Regions from separate parts of the Homo sapiens genome. Here all the other regions are linked to region 1. The links are contacts of gene promoters, found by promoter capture Hi-C in human tissues and cell types (Jung and others, 2019). All regions are on one chromosome and are shown on one strand. Each heading gives the region's core, a stretch centred on a gene start or on the middle of the fragment in contact. The rest is flanking DNA. Distances are from core to core; before and after follow the strand shown.

Evidence for each region. Contacts are between HindIII fragments. The study calls those that stand out against the background at their distance.
Region 2: a fragment that was not itself captured here is called in contact with the fragment with the promoter of P4HTM in region 1 in 1 of the 25 tissues and cell types used here (heart right ventricle).
Region 3: a contact is called between a fragment that was not itself captured here and the fragment with the promoter of P4HTM in region 1, in 4 of the 25 tissues and cell types used here (IMR-90 fibroblasts, aorta, mesendoderm cells and 1 more).
Region 4: a fragment that was not itself captured here is called in contact with the fragment with the promoter of P4HTM in region 1 in 2 of the 25 tissues and cell types used here (IMR-90 fibroblasts and lymphoblastoid cells).
Region 5: a fragment that was not itself captured here is called in contact with the fragment with the promoter of P4HTM in region 1 in 1 of the 25 tissues and cell types used here (hippocampus).

What each region holds. Positions count from the first base shown.
Region 1 is chr3:48,988,991-48,991,690 of GRCh38, forward strand. It overlaps P4HTM (prolyl 4-hydroxylase, transmembrane), which reads left to right and starts at 1,251. Exons shown (of 9, transcript NM_177939.3): 1 at 1,251-1,620; 2 at 1,843-1,924. The coding sequence starts at 1,267. LOC124909376 (a long non-coding RNA gene) reads right to left here and starts at 882. Exons shown (of 2, transcript XR_007095903.1): 1 at 558-882. RefSeq lists enhancers at 1-534, 535-1,097, 845-1,004, 1,662-2,223 and a silencer at 1,115-1,494. The HindIII fragment of the contact is 19,056 bases long and covers 1-2,700 here.
Region 2 is chr3:48,839,672-48,842,371 of GRCh38, forward strand. The region is part of intron 1 of PRKAR2A (protein kinase cAMP-dependent type II regulatory subunit alpha); the gene reads right to left. Among named protein-coding and RNA genes, the nearest start is that of PRKAR2A, 6.9 kb to the right of the region's middle. The HindIII fragment of the contact is 5,871 bases long and covers 1-2,700 here.
Region 3 is chr3:48,804,820-48,807,519 of GRCh38, forward strand. All of the region lies in intron 2 of PRKAR2A (protein kinase cAMP-dependent type II regulatory subunit alpha), which reads right to left. Among named protein-coding and RNA genes, the nearest start is that of PRKAR2A, 42 kb to the right of the region's middle. The HindIII fragment of the contact is 5,640 bases long and covers 1-2,700 here.
Region 4 is chr3:48,752,535-48,755,234 of GRCh38, forward strand. All of the region lies in intron 9 of PRKAR2A (protein kinase cAMP-dependent type II regulatory subunit alpha), which reads right to left. Among named protein-coding and RNA genes, the nearest start is that of IP6K2, 37 kb to the left of the region's middle. The HindIII fragment of the contact is 7,790 bases long and covers 1-2,700 here.
Region 5 is chr3:48,782,291-48,784,990 of GRCh38, forward strand. PRKAR2A (protein kinase cAMP-dependent type II regulatory subunit alpha) reads right to left here. Exons shown (of 11, transcript NM_004157.4): 5 at 696-802. Among named protein-coding and RNA genes, the nearest start is that of PRKAR2A, 64 kb to the right of the region's middle. The HindIII fragment of the contact is 6,575 bases long and covers 1-2,700 here.

The DNA.
Region 1 (2,700 bases), core at 1-2,500:
GGCTGAGGCAGGAGAATTGCTTGAACCCGGAAGGCAGAGGTTGCAGTGAGCCAAGATCGCGCCACTGCACTCCAGCCTGGGCGACAGAGTGAGACTCCGTCACACACACACAAAAAATCTTAGAAGAAAGAGGTGGGCCTGCCCTTGGAGCCCCTGGCCTGCCTTGACTTGAGGGGACTAGAAAATGCAGACTATGCTTTGCTATGGGGAAGGGAGAGGAGATGGGAGTAGAGGTAGTGGGGGTCTTAACCAGGGTAGGGAGAAACCACCAGTGTGACCTGCCTTAAAAGTGTTGCTCTTGCCTGCAAGTCCACCTCGGGGAGGGGGGTCAGCTTCTGCCCTGAGGGCGTGTAGTAATCTCTTCCTGAGGATAACCAGCTCTAGAAGAGCAGGGATGCCTTGGCACTTGACCACTGGTAGGTATGTCCTCCCCCCACCCCCGTTTTTGGTGATAATCTGTTTAATTTTTCTCTGAGGTAATGGTGTCTCAGTTATGGAAGAGTCCCTTCCCGCCTCTTCACACGTGCCAGCTTTGATGCAAGGAGTGTTCCATATACCTGAGCACTGGTTCATTCCTGCGGGCTGCCATGGGGGGCTCACTTTCCTGATGCCAGGGCTCCTCCAGGATGCCCCCTCTGACGGCCTATGAAACCTTGCACATCAGGCAGCTTCTTCCTAAGGCCTGCCTGACTCCGGCGAGACTTCCCGGGAGATCCGGACCGACCGCGGAACCGAGCTCCAAGAATGCCTGCGAGGAGGCTGTGGGTCCTACCCTATCGCCGCTTACGCAGTCCCAGCCTCCGCGGCGCCCCCAAATGCCGCACTGTTGAGTCATCTCAGCGCTGCCTCCTCCGCGCTGCGCTCCCCACCCCCGCTCCTGGAGCAAGAAGATGCAGACGATACTTTTCCCGGAGGCAAGAGGGCGTCTTCACGCAGGCACCGAGAAGCTCCCACTAGTGTATGCCTTAATGGTGCCGCTCTTGTCCGCGTCTACGCTTGGGACCTTGGCTTCTGACTTGGAGAGTGTACAGCTCTGCCCGACGGCAACCCAGCTTGGGAAGAGAAGCCCCAGCGTGGGCTGGGGCTCAAGGCGCAGGAAGGCCGAGCCCGGCGCGGACGCAGGCGGCTCCGGGCGGGCTCAGCACCCCCAGGCACCGTCTCCTAGTGACCGCGGCGCTCGCGGGCCTGGCGGCCGTTGTCCGGGCGACTGCGCAGCGCGGGCACCCCCGCGGCCCCTCCCCTGGGCGCGCGCGCGACCTGGGTGCCATGGCGGCAGCGGCGGTGACAGGCCAGCGGCCTGAGACCGCGGCGGCCGAGGAGGCCTCGAGGCCGCAGTGGGCGCCGCCAGACCACTGCCAGGCTCAGGCGGCGGCCGGGCTGGGCGACGGCGAGGACGCACCGGTGCGTCCGCTGTGCAAGCCCCGCGGCATCTGCTCGCGCGCCTACTTCCTGGTGCTGATGGTGTTCGTGCACCTGTACCTGGGTAACGTGCTGGCGCTGCTGCTCTTCGTGCACTACAGCAACGGCGACGAAAGCAGCGATCCCGGGCCCCAACACCGTGCCCAGGGCCCCGGGCCCGAGCCCACCTTAGGTCCCCTCACCCGGCTGGAGGGCATCAAGGTGAGGACCTCCCTGCCCCGCCGCGCTCCAGGCCCTGCACGGCTGAGCCCGAGAGGACCGGCGCTCAGCCCGGGTCCCCACGCTGCCCCCGGCGCTGCTCTGCGTCGGTCCCGCGCGCTCCCACTCACTCGCCTGCTGTCGCTCTCCGGGCCGGGGCGACTTGGCCCTTCTTGGGCAGCGCGGTCTGGCGCCCCAGCTGCCCGCTGTGCGCCTTTTCCTTAGGTGGGGCACGAGCGTAAGGTCCAGCTGGTCACCGACAGGGATCACTTCATCCGAACCCTCAGCCTCAAGCCGCTGCTCTTCGGTAAGTCCGCCAGATACTCCTGGGAAGGGCCAGGGGCTGCGGTTTGGTGGCCACCTTGAGGCTCGTTGTGACCACGTGACCTCTATTTTGAAAATGGCTGCTTCAGAGCAGCCCTTCCAGAGGATTACCAAAGTGAAGGACCTTCCCCGTCCTCGAAATAGGGTAACACTCCCTCTTATCCCAACTCCCTGCAGTCCATTCTTCCATCACAGGGCTGGCAGGGTGAGCCTGAGGCTGGTGTCTAAACGTTTCATTGCACCTGTCTTCCGTGCCACCATTAATTCTGTCACCTTCTAGAACTGGGAGGAAGGTGGGAGACTGATAACCAGCTTTCTGCCGACCTCAGGACCTCTGGGGAAAATCCCACTGCCGAAGTGGGCCTTGTGGTCTGATGAGAAGCAGGCCGTCCAAATGTAGATAAACTGGTACCCCCCCAGCCTCCTCCACTGGAGTACCAGTCAGAGGCTCAGCTTTTGCTGCCAGCACTCTGAGATTCTTCTTAAGGTGAAGTCTTTGTTCAGCCATCATGGGCAAAGCTTTCTAGGGTGACTCCAGTTGGAGCCACAACATAGCTCATCGTTTCTGAGCTCTAGTTATGTGCTTGCCTTCATATGATTATTTCATTTAATTCCTGCAACCCCTCTGTGAAGTGGGTGTAGATCCTACTCAGGCCAGTGAGGGGGAAAGTTAGGGACAGAGAGCTGCTGTGGCTTGGCCAGGCTGACACGGTTACTTCAGTGGTGAAGCTAGGATTAGAACCCACATAGCCTGCCTCT
Region 2 (2,700 bases), core at 98-2,597, 150 kb before region 1:
CTGAATTGGTGGTTAGTCACAAGGACCTCACTAAGCAAAGCTTCCTTGCTATATACAGTTATTACATATGATACTTCTTGTTCTTTTTTTTATTGGCTCTGGAGTTGAAACATATCCTATTTCTAATTTAAGTAGTGTAGACTTATTCTAATGTCATTGGGTATACAATTCATTTTTTCTTCCTTTTTAAATTGTGGTAAGATGTACATAAAATGTGCCACTTCACCATTTTAAGTGTACAATTCAGTGTCATTAAGTACATACATTGTGCAACCATCACCATTATCCAACTTCAGAACTTTTTCATTATCCCAAACTGAAACTCTGTACCTATTAAACAATAACACCCTATTACACCTTCCCCCAAGCCCTCGGTTAGCTCTCTTCTACTTTCTGTCCCTATGAATTTAGCTACTCTGGTTACCTTCTGTAAGTGGAATCATACATTATTTGTCCTTTTGTATCTGGCTCATTTCATTTAGGATAATATTTTCAATGCTGTAACATGAATAAGAATTTCATTCCTTCTTAAGGATGGTCAGGTATGGTGGCTCATGCCTGTAATCCCATCACTTTGGGAAGTCGAGGCGGGACGGGTGGATCACCTGAGGTTGGGAGTTTGAGACCAGCCTGGCTAACATGGTGAAACCCCGTCTCTACTAAAAATACAAAAACTAGCCAGGCATGGTGGCACACGCCTGTAATCCCAGCTACTCGGGAGGCTGAGGCAAGTGAACTGCTTGAACCCAGGAGGTGGAGGTTGCAGTGAGCAGGATCGTGCCACTGCACTCCAGCCTGGGAGACAGAGCAACACTCGGTCTTATGTATATATATACCATATTTTGTTTATCCATTCATTTATGGATGTATACCTGGATACCTGGTTTGTTTTCACCTTTTTTTTTTTTTTTTTTTTTTTTTTTGAGACGGAGTCTCACTCTCTCGCCCAGGCTGGAGTGCAGTGGCACAATCTCGGCTCACTGCAAGCTCTGCCTCCTGGGTTCACGCCATTCTCCTGCCTCAGCCTCCCGAGTAGCTGGGACTACAGGCACCCGCCACCACGCCCGGCTTATATTTTGTATTTTTAGTAGAGACGGAATTTCACTGTGTTAGCCAGGATGGTCTCAATCTCCTGACCTCGTGATCCGCCCACCTCGGCCTCCCAAAGTGCTGGGATTACAGGCATGAGCCACAGGGCCTGGCCCACCTTTTTTTTTTTTTTTTTTTTTGAGACAGTTTCGCTCTTGTTGCCCAGGCTGGAGTGCAATGGCGTGATCTCCGCTCACTGAAACCTCCACCTCCTGGGTTCAAAAGATTCTCCTGCCTCAGCCTCCCGAGTAGCTGGGATTACAGGCGCACACCACCACACCCAGCTAATTTTTTTTTTTTAATTTAGTAGAGATGGGGTTTTACCATATTAGTCAGGCTGGTCTCAAACTCCTGACCTCAGGTGATCCGCCCGCCTCGGCCCCCCAGTGCTGGGATTACAGGCACGTGCCATGTTTTCACCTTTTGACTACTGTAAATAATGCTGCAATGAGCACTGGAGTATAACTATCTGTTTAACTCCCTGCTTAAAATTATTTTGGGTAGGCCGGGAACGGTGGCTCACACCTGTAATCCCAGCACTTTGGGAGGCTGAGGCAGGCAGATCACAAGGTCAGGAGTTTGAGACCAGCCTGGTCAATATGGTGAAACACCATCTCTACTAAAAATACAAAAAATTACCCAAGTGTGGTGGCGCATGCCTGTAATCCCAGCTACTCGGAAGGCTGAGGTGGGAGAATTGCTTGAACCAGAAGGCAGAGGTTGCAATGAACCAAGATCCCGCCACTACACTCCAGCCTGGGTGACAGAACAAGACTCTGTCTCAAAAAAAAAAAAAAAAAAAAAAAAAGGTGTTTTGGTTATATACCTAGGAGTGAAATTGCTCTACCTATGATAATTCTATGTTTAACTACTTTTTGAGGAACCACCAAATTGTTTTCCACAGCAGCTGAACCATTTTACATTCCCATGAGTAATGCACAAGGGTTCCAACATCTCCACATCTTGGCTATTTTCTGTTTTTAATACCAGCCATCCTAACAGGTATGAAGTATCTCATTGTATGCAATGTATTTTTCATTTATTATTTGTAAATAGAAATCCACCTTGTAGTGATTTCTATAATTATGTAGCGCAGCCACCTGAGACACCAAAAATACTTAAATACCAATAAAATAGGGTACAAAGATTTTAAGTCAACTCAATTTTGAAAAAGGTATCAAAGATGACAAAGAATGACGATATAATACAAAAACTTGTCACTGAATTATAAATTACCTTGGACAGTATGGCCATTTTCACTATATTGATTCTTCCTATCCATGAGCATGGAATGTTCTTCCATTTGTTTGTATCCTCTTTTATTTCATTGAGCAGTGGTTTGTAGTTCTCCTTGAAGAGGTCCTTCACGTCCCTTGTAAGTTGGATTCCTAGGTATTTTATTCTCTTTGAAGCAATTGTGAATGGGAGTTCACTCATGACTTGGCTCTCTGTTTTTCTGTTATTGGTATATAAGAATGCTTGTGATTTTTGTGCATTGATTTTGTATCCTGAGACTTTGCTGAAGTTGCTTATCAGCTTAAGGAGATTTGGGGCTGAGACAATGGGGTTTTCTAGATATACAATCATGTCATCTGCAAACAGGGACAATTT
Region 3 (2,700 bases), core at 41-2,540, 180 kb before region 1:
ATATGTGGAAATAAGAAGGAACAACCTGGGGATTGTTAGATGACTAAAACAAGGAGAAGCAGTGGCTGGTAAAATATAATAATGTTAAGTTTAATTTTAATTTTTTTTTTGAGATAGAATCTCACTCTGTCACCCAGGCTGGAGTACAGTGGAACGATCACAGCTCACTGCAGCATTGACCTCCCAGGCTCAAGCAATCTTCTTAACTCAGCCTCCTGAATAGCTAGGACTACATGTGTGCACCATCATGCCCAGCTATTTTTTTTTAATTTTTTGAGAGATGGGGTCTCACTGTGTTGCCCCAGCTGGTCTCAAACTCCTAGGCTCAAGCAATTCTCGCACCTCAGTCTCCCAAAGTGCTGGGATTACAGGTGTGAGCCACGATGGCCAGCCATAATGCGAAGTTTTAAGAAGCTTTCAGGGAGAAGGGAGAGAGAATGCTCTGGAAGCAGCCAAGAGAATCAATAGAGACATTCACCCATTTCCTGTCAGTGTTACAAGGAAGGTAGAAGAGGACAGAGCCATTGTTTGAGAAGCCTACAGGGCAAGCCAAGCTTCAGCTACAGCTGGAAAGTGAAAGCTGCACTGAGAGAACAGGGTGAGAATTTGGCGGATTTAGCTGAAGACTAACCAAGAGTTCCAGAGGGTGCAAGAAAGAATCTTAGAGATAGCAAGGGTGGTACTTAGGATCCATGCTACCTATGGGCATATGCTCACCTCACCTATTGCAAGTTACTTAACCTCTGCTTTGTTCCCAGTTTCCTTGTCTGTAAATTGGGGATAATCATGGTATGGGCCTCACTCAAAGTGTTATTTTGAAGATTATATTCAACAATACAAGGAAGGCATTTAGAAAGTCCTTATAACTGTGCACCTGGCACACGGTCTGCACTTAAAAAATGTTACGTATTATTAAAGGATACTTTCTCTCCTGTATCATCCTATTGAATTATTTGAAAAATCTTTTATTTTCATTTAACATTTCAATGATATGAAAAGGTTTTAAATCCTAAGATTATAAAATCTAAGGAGGAGGGATAATACCATGTACTTGTCTGAGTCTTCTACAAGGTTCAAGATTTGAACAACAATGGCAGAGGGCCAAACAAACTAACACCAACTGTGACCTCAGGAGGAGGTATCACTATAGTCTCCATCTCCCAGACCTATCCTACAGATGTCAAGGGATTTAACTAATCTTTCAGAGGAAAAAAAGGTGCAGGGCAGACATGAACAAAAATGGAAGATAATAGCTCATGGGTATCAAACTAACCTTAATCCCTACTCTCAGGATATTGACTCTCTTAACATAACATATTCTTCAACCTCCTTTCAACAGATTTTTATGTGGAATGATAAACGCTTTCTGAAAACATAAATGAGCCGATTTTCTCAAAGACAAGGATTGAGGGATAGAAAAGCAATTCCTAGCCCTATAATAGGCCAGATGACAATTTCAAATCAAGAAACCTTCCTAAAACAAGGAAATATGAAAGAACATACCATTTGCCTAGCAATTTTAAAACACATTAACATTCCACTGTACTCCCAAATAAATTCCAGAGTTATCAAAAAGTCAAACACTTTAAGAAAAACTTTCATAAAATATATTTACCAGCTCTATGGAAAAAAGGGGAGCCTTCTCAGGAACAATCATTGTTTTTTTTTTAAAAAAGATGATGTGCATATTCAATAAATATTTACTGAGTGCCTATGTGTCCAGCAGTGTTTGAGGTTATCAGTCATATATTAACATCTCTAACTCAATTAAAAAAATAGCATAACCACCTAGGGAAATTTTGCATTGAAAATTTCAAAAGGTCAAAAACTTGGATAGAAAGTTTACCCAAACTTATTTTTAAAATAATATGGACTATACCAGATAAAAGGGCAAAATATTACCAAACTAGTACCATATAAGAAAATACAAATAGATTTCTCATATTTGGAAAGCATTCTTTTTTTTTTTTGAGACAGAGTCTCACTCTGTTGCCCAGGCTGGAGTGCAGTAGCGTGATCTTGGCTCACTGAAATCTCCACCTCCTGGGTTCAAGTGATTCTCTGCCTCAGCCTCCCAAGTAGCTGGGACTACAGGGGCGCGCTACTGTGCCTGGCTAATTTTTTTGTACTTTTAGTAGAGACGGGGTTTCACCATGTTAGCCAGACTGGTCTCAAACTCCTCACCTCGTGATCCACCCGCCAAGACCTCCCAAAGTACTGGGATTATGGGTGTGAGCCACCGCGCCTGGACAGCATTCATTTTTTTAACAACCAAAAGAAATGCCATATAAAATGATGTGAAGTACTATTTTACATTTAAATTCCATATTATTAAGATAATGGTGGAAAAGAGGCAGGTACAGGGTGCCTTTCTCCCAGTAGCCTAATCTGTGGACTCTCTCTACAAAACAAGACAGAAAAAGCCAAGGCAATGCTCAGTCTCTGACCAGAGAATGCCACTTCCAGCACCAAAACTGAGGAAATAATTCAAGTGGCTCAAAAAGGTATATGTAAGAGTTAATGGCAGCATAAGCCAGAATACCAGAAAAAGGAATATGAAAAATCATTTTTTGAAGCTGTAATTATAAACATGAAAAAACAGTAATGACATAAACGCAAAGAGACAAACTGTACCAATTATAGTATAAAATACGTACATACATACTCAGAACTTAAAATAAAAACAGAATAAAGAAACCA
Region 4 (2,700 bases), core at 170-2,669, 240 kb before region 1:
TAACATTTTCAAGGTAATCTACAGCCATACCATTCTGAACATGCCCAATCTTGTCTAAATAAGGACAATGCTTCTCTTAGGTAATGAGCCACAAACTTGGGCTATTTCTCTGATTTGAGACTGCGCCTTGAACAACATTTTACAGTGACAAAATCCCCCATGCCCCCCACATTTTTTTTTAAGAGACAGGGTCTCACTCTGTCACCAAGGCTGGAGTTCAGAGGAATGATCACAGCTCATGCAGCCTTCAACTGTTGGCCTCAAGCAATCCTCCCATCTTGGCCTCCCAAAGTGCTCGGATTACAGGAGTGATTCACTGCTCCTGGCCAACAAATTTCTTTTTAAGTACTATTTGTACCTTAAGTTAGTGGTTCCCTCCTCCTTTTTTTTTTTTTTTTTTTTTTTTTTTTTTTTTTGAGATGGAGTCTCGCTCTGTCGCCCAGGCTGGAGTGCAGTGGCGCAATATCCGCTCACTTCAAGCTCTGCCTCCCAGGTTCATGCCATTCTCCTGCCTCAACCTCCCAAGTAGCTGGGACCACAGGCGCCCGCCACCACGCCTGGCTAATTTTTTTGTATTTTTAGCAGAGACAGGGTTTCACCATGTTCGCCAGTATAGTCTCCATCTGCTGACCTCATAATCTGCCCGCCTCGGCCTCTCAAAGTGCTGGGATTATAGGCACTCCCCCCTCCCATTTTTTAAAATAAGAGTTAAGTAACTAAATTTAAGATAATATACTACATTATATTAATATCTAGAGGTTTTTTTTTTTAACAAATCCAACTGCTAACCAAAGTGATAATTTAAGTAAATAATTGTTTAGAATTTATTAGTAAGAATTAGTCTCAATCTCTAAGAACCACTTTATGTTGTAGGCAGAAAGATAATTTCCTTTTTGGTTAATTTTTAAAAGAAACAAAACTGCTACACTAGCTTACACGGTTTGACCCTTCTTCCTTCTACACTTCTGCCCTGTTGCTCTGAAGTTGGTCTGTTTCATCTGAGCCAACTTTCCCTTTCCAATTTCAGTAGTATTCTCTGGAGTTGCAGCCATATTCGTGCCCACTTAGTCCCTTCTCTAAAACAGAAGGGACTTATCACACTGTCACATACACACCAGCTCCCGTATTACGCAGGTTTTCTCGCAATGCACATTCTGATTCAGTAAATCTGGGGAAAAGCCAGGACTCTGAACTTCTGACAAACCACCCATCCCCAATATCCCAGTGCCATGCTGCTGCTGATCTTATGCACCTAACACTATGCTGTGATCATAGCAGGTGTCAATGAATATCTGAGAAATCTACAAACATCACTAGTCCAAAAACTGTAAGTAAAATGACACAGACATTTCAAACTATTGTTTTCTTTTTTTTTTTTTTTTGAGCAGAGTCTCACTCTGTTGCCCAGGCTGGAGTGCAGTGGTGTGATCTCAGCTCACTGCAAGCTCTGCCTCCTGGGCTCATGCCATTCTCCTGCCTCAGCCTCCTGAGTAGCTGGGACTACAGGTGCCCGCAACCACACCTGGCTAATATTTTTTGTGTTTTTTAGTAGAGACGGGGTTTAACCATGTTAGCCAGGATGGTCTCGATCTCCTGACCTCGTGATCCGCCTGCCTCGGCCTCCCAAAGTGCTGGAATTACAAGCGTGAGCCACCATGCCAGGCCAAAACTATTGTTTTCAGTTGAAACAACAGATCTACTTTTTTCTTTTTTTTTTTTTGAGACAGAGTTTGGCTCTTGTTGCCCAGGCTGGAGTGCAATGGTGCGATCTCAGCTCACTGCAACCTCCGCCTCCCGGGTTCAAGCGATTCTCCTGCCTCAGCCTCCTGAGTAGCTGTGACTACAGCTATGTGCCACCACGCCCGGCTAATTTTGTATTTTTAGTAGAGATGAGGTTTCTCCATGTTGGTCAGGCTGGTCTCAAAGATCTACTTTTAATTAAGAATCAAGCTATCACATGGGCGCCGGTGGCTCATGCCTGTAATCCCAGCACTTTGGGAGGCAGAGGCAGGAGGATCACCTGAGGTCAGGAGTTCCAGACCAGCCTGGCCAACATGGGGAAACCCTGTCCCTACTAAAAGTACAAAAAATTAGCTGGGCTTGGTGGTGGGAGCCTATAGTCCCAGCTACTTGCGAGGCTGAGGCAGGAGAATCGCTTGAACCCAGGGACGGAGGTTGCAGTAAGCTGAGATCACGCCACTGCACTCCAGCCTGGGCAACAAGAGCGACACTCTAGCTTAAAATAAAAAAGAATCAAGCTACCTTCAGCTACTCAGTAGGGTGAGGCACGAGAATCGATTGAAACTAGGGGGTTGGAGGTTGCAGTGAGTTGAGATTGCACCACTGCATTCCAGCCTGGGCAACAGAGCAAGACTCACTCAAAAAAAAAAAAAGAGAGAGAGAGAAAACAAATCCAGCTATCTTACAGACAGTAATATTCTTCTTTTTCCATACTTATTAACTTTTTTTTTTTTTTTTTTTGAGACAGAGTCTTGCTCTGTTGCCCAGGCTGGAGTACAGTGGTGTGATCTCAGCTCACGCAAGCTCTGCCTCCCGGGTTCACGCCATTCTCCTGCCTTAGCCTCCCGAGTAGCTGGGACTACAGGCGCCCGCCACCATGCCTGGCTAATTTTTTGTATTTTTATTAGAGACAGGGTTTCACTGTGTTAGCCAGGATGGTCTCAATCTCCTGACCTCGTG
Region 5 (2,700 bases), core at 124-2,623, 210 kb before region 1:
TCATGAGTAAAATCAGGCTCAAATACAAACATTCAAATGACTATAGTACCATGGCTAATTCTTCAAGGAATCAATTCACTTGACACTGGCAAATAACATGTTTATAAAGCACACCCTGCACTCCTTACTAACTGTAAAGGAGACTTTCTTTTTTTTTTTTTGAGATGGAGTCTTGCTCTGTTGTCCAGGCTGGAGTGCAGTGGCGGGGTCTCAGCTCACTGCAACAACCTTTGCTAGGATTACAGGCGTGAGCCTCCTAGGTTCAAGTGATTCTCCAGCCTCAGCCTCCCAAGCAGCTGGGATTACAGGCATGCACTGCCACATCCGGCTAATTTTTGTATTTTTAGTAGATACGGGGTTTCACCATACTGGCCAGGCTGGTCTCAAACCCCTCACCTCAAGCGATCCACCGGCCTTGGCCTCCCAAAGTGCTGCAATTACAGGCATGAGCCACTGCGCCTGGCCTAAAGGAGACTTTCTACTCTAAATGATTGCTCTTCAAATATGAGTTGTGCTGAGGACTCAGGACAGCACTGGTAGAGAGGGACAAGCTGTGGACTCTCACAAGGCTTTGGGAAGCTTGTTCACCTGGCCCTTAGCCTCTCTGGGCTGAATACAGAATAGGATAAAGCATCTGCCCTGAGTCATGAATCCGATTAAGTGTGGCCACACAATTTCAAAGCTCCATCTCCTACCGTTCTATGACATAAAAGTTGTCTCCATCATCTCCTTGGTCAATGACATGCTCATCAGCTTTGACTATCCTTTCAAACATGGCATCGAGAACTTGAGAAAGCTGTTCCTGCAGGGTATGCACAAGAAGAAAAAAATAGCCTTTACATATGCTGAAAAAAAGCAGTGACCATAATTATCTCAATTTGTGACTATGTAACAGAAGTCCCCACATTCAAGCAGAAACCTAAAGGTTGTCTGAAACAAATGCTTTCCTGGGACCATTCAGCTTTGCACCTCCATGTACCTCAGCAGACAGCAAACTGGCAAGTCTTCTGAGGCAGTATTGTTTTGAAAAAGCTTCCCAAAATTTACACAAAAATATTATCTAAATTATGGTCCATGTTCTCCCAGCCACACCCACATGACTGTCACCTGCCTGATGGCTCCACTATGTCATGTGTAAAGTCATATGCTCCCACCTTCCTACAGCTGTTGACCTTAACAGGAGCATCAGATCTAAAGGGCTGCTATGGCCTTAGAGGTTATCTTTTGGAACAGCACAACTTTTGACTAGCGAAACACGTCACTTAACCTCACTGAGCTTCAGTATCTTGTTTGTTTTTTTTTGTTCTGGAGACGGAGTCTCACTCTGTCACACAGGCTGGAGTGCAGTGGTGTGATCTCAGCTCACCACAACCTCTACCTCCCGAGTTCAAGCGATTCTCCTGCCTCGGCCTCCTGAGTAGCTGGGACTACAGGCCTGTGCCACCACGCCTGGCAAATTTTTATATTTTTAGTAGAGACAGGGTTTTGCCATGTTGGCCAGGCTGGTCTCGAACTCCTGACCTCATGTAATCCACCCACCTTGGCTTCCCAAAGTGCTAGGATTACAGACGTGAGCCACCACGTCCGGTGAACTCCAGTTTCTTCATATGTAAAAAGGGTATAACAAAGATTCCAGGTCATCAATTTTTATGACCAAAGGAAAAAAACCTAGGAAAGTATTTATGAAACAACAGATACTCAATAAATGAGATATATTATAAGACAGCTAATATTGCTTCATTTGCATACAGCACATACAATTACTTACAAATATTGCCTGCCATAACCAGACATCAACTATGTCAATAAGTATAATGAAAAGAAAATAATACTATTAAATTCTAATGAAACAATGGTCTCAGTCTGGGGCCAGCATCCCTGTCAGGGAGATCAGTAATTATTAGGAAGTCACTAAAGAATACCAGGTTCAATTAAAAAAAGAGACTTTCTCTTTGGAGAAATGTAGACTGAAGACCTGAAAAGAGAATAATTTTATGACTGCATAATTCCATGTGATTTTATGTTCTATCAGAGTGACTGTACTACCAAGATAATTGAGTATCACCAAAAAGTGTATTTAGTTCCACGTGCGTTGAATACTGTATAAGCTAACAAATACTAAAAAGGATGGCTTGCAACTGACGTGTTACCCACACTGACTGGAATGTGAGCCCAGTGTTGCCAGAAATCTCCTATTTAAACACTGGCAATAAATTTAAATTTTCATGTTCAATACAGACCAAACACAGACATCTGTACCTAGCCTGTGGGTTGCCTGCTGGAAGCCGCTTGTTCTGAGTCACTTTTCTTCTTCTAGTCTGGACTCTTCAAACACATGTGTCATGAGATATAGAATAACAGGGGCGGAAAGGGAGCATTTCTAGGTTAGAGGAGACTAAAATAACAACATGACAACCAAATGAAATACAGTAAGTCCTCAATGTGGTTGATAGGTTCTTGAAAACTGTGACTTTAAGCAAAACAATGTATAGAAGGTCCTCAAATAACACAGTTATAACACTGATGAGGGGAAAAAAAGGTTTCATTATAGGTTGTTTTGCTTAAAGTTGCAGTTTCCAAGACTACCAACAATGTTGAAGTACTTACTATATGTGATTCATGATGTTAGGTGAAGACTTATTGTATGTGATTCAGGACTGAAAAACAAAACAAAAAGCTATACAGAACTTTACTGGGAAA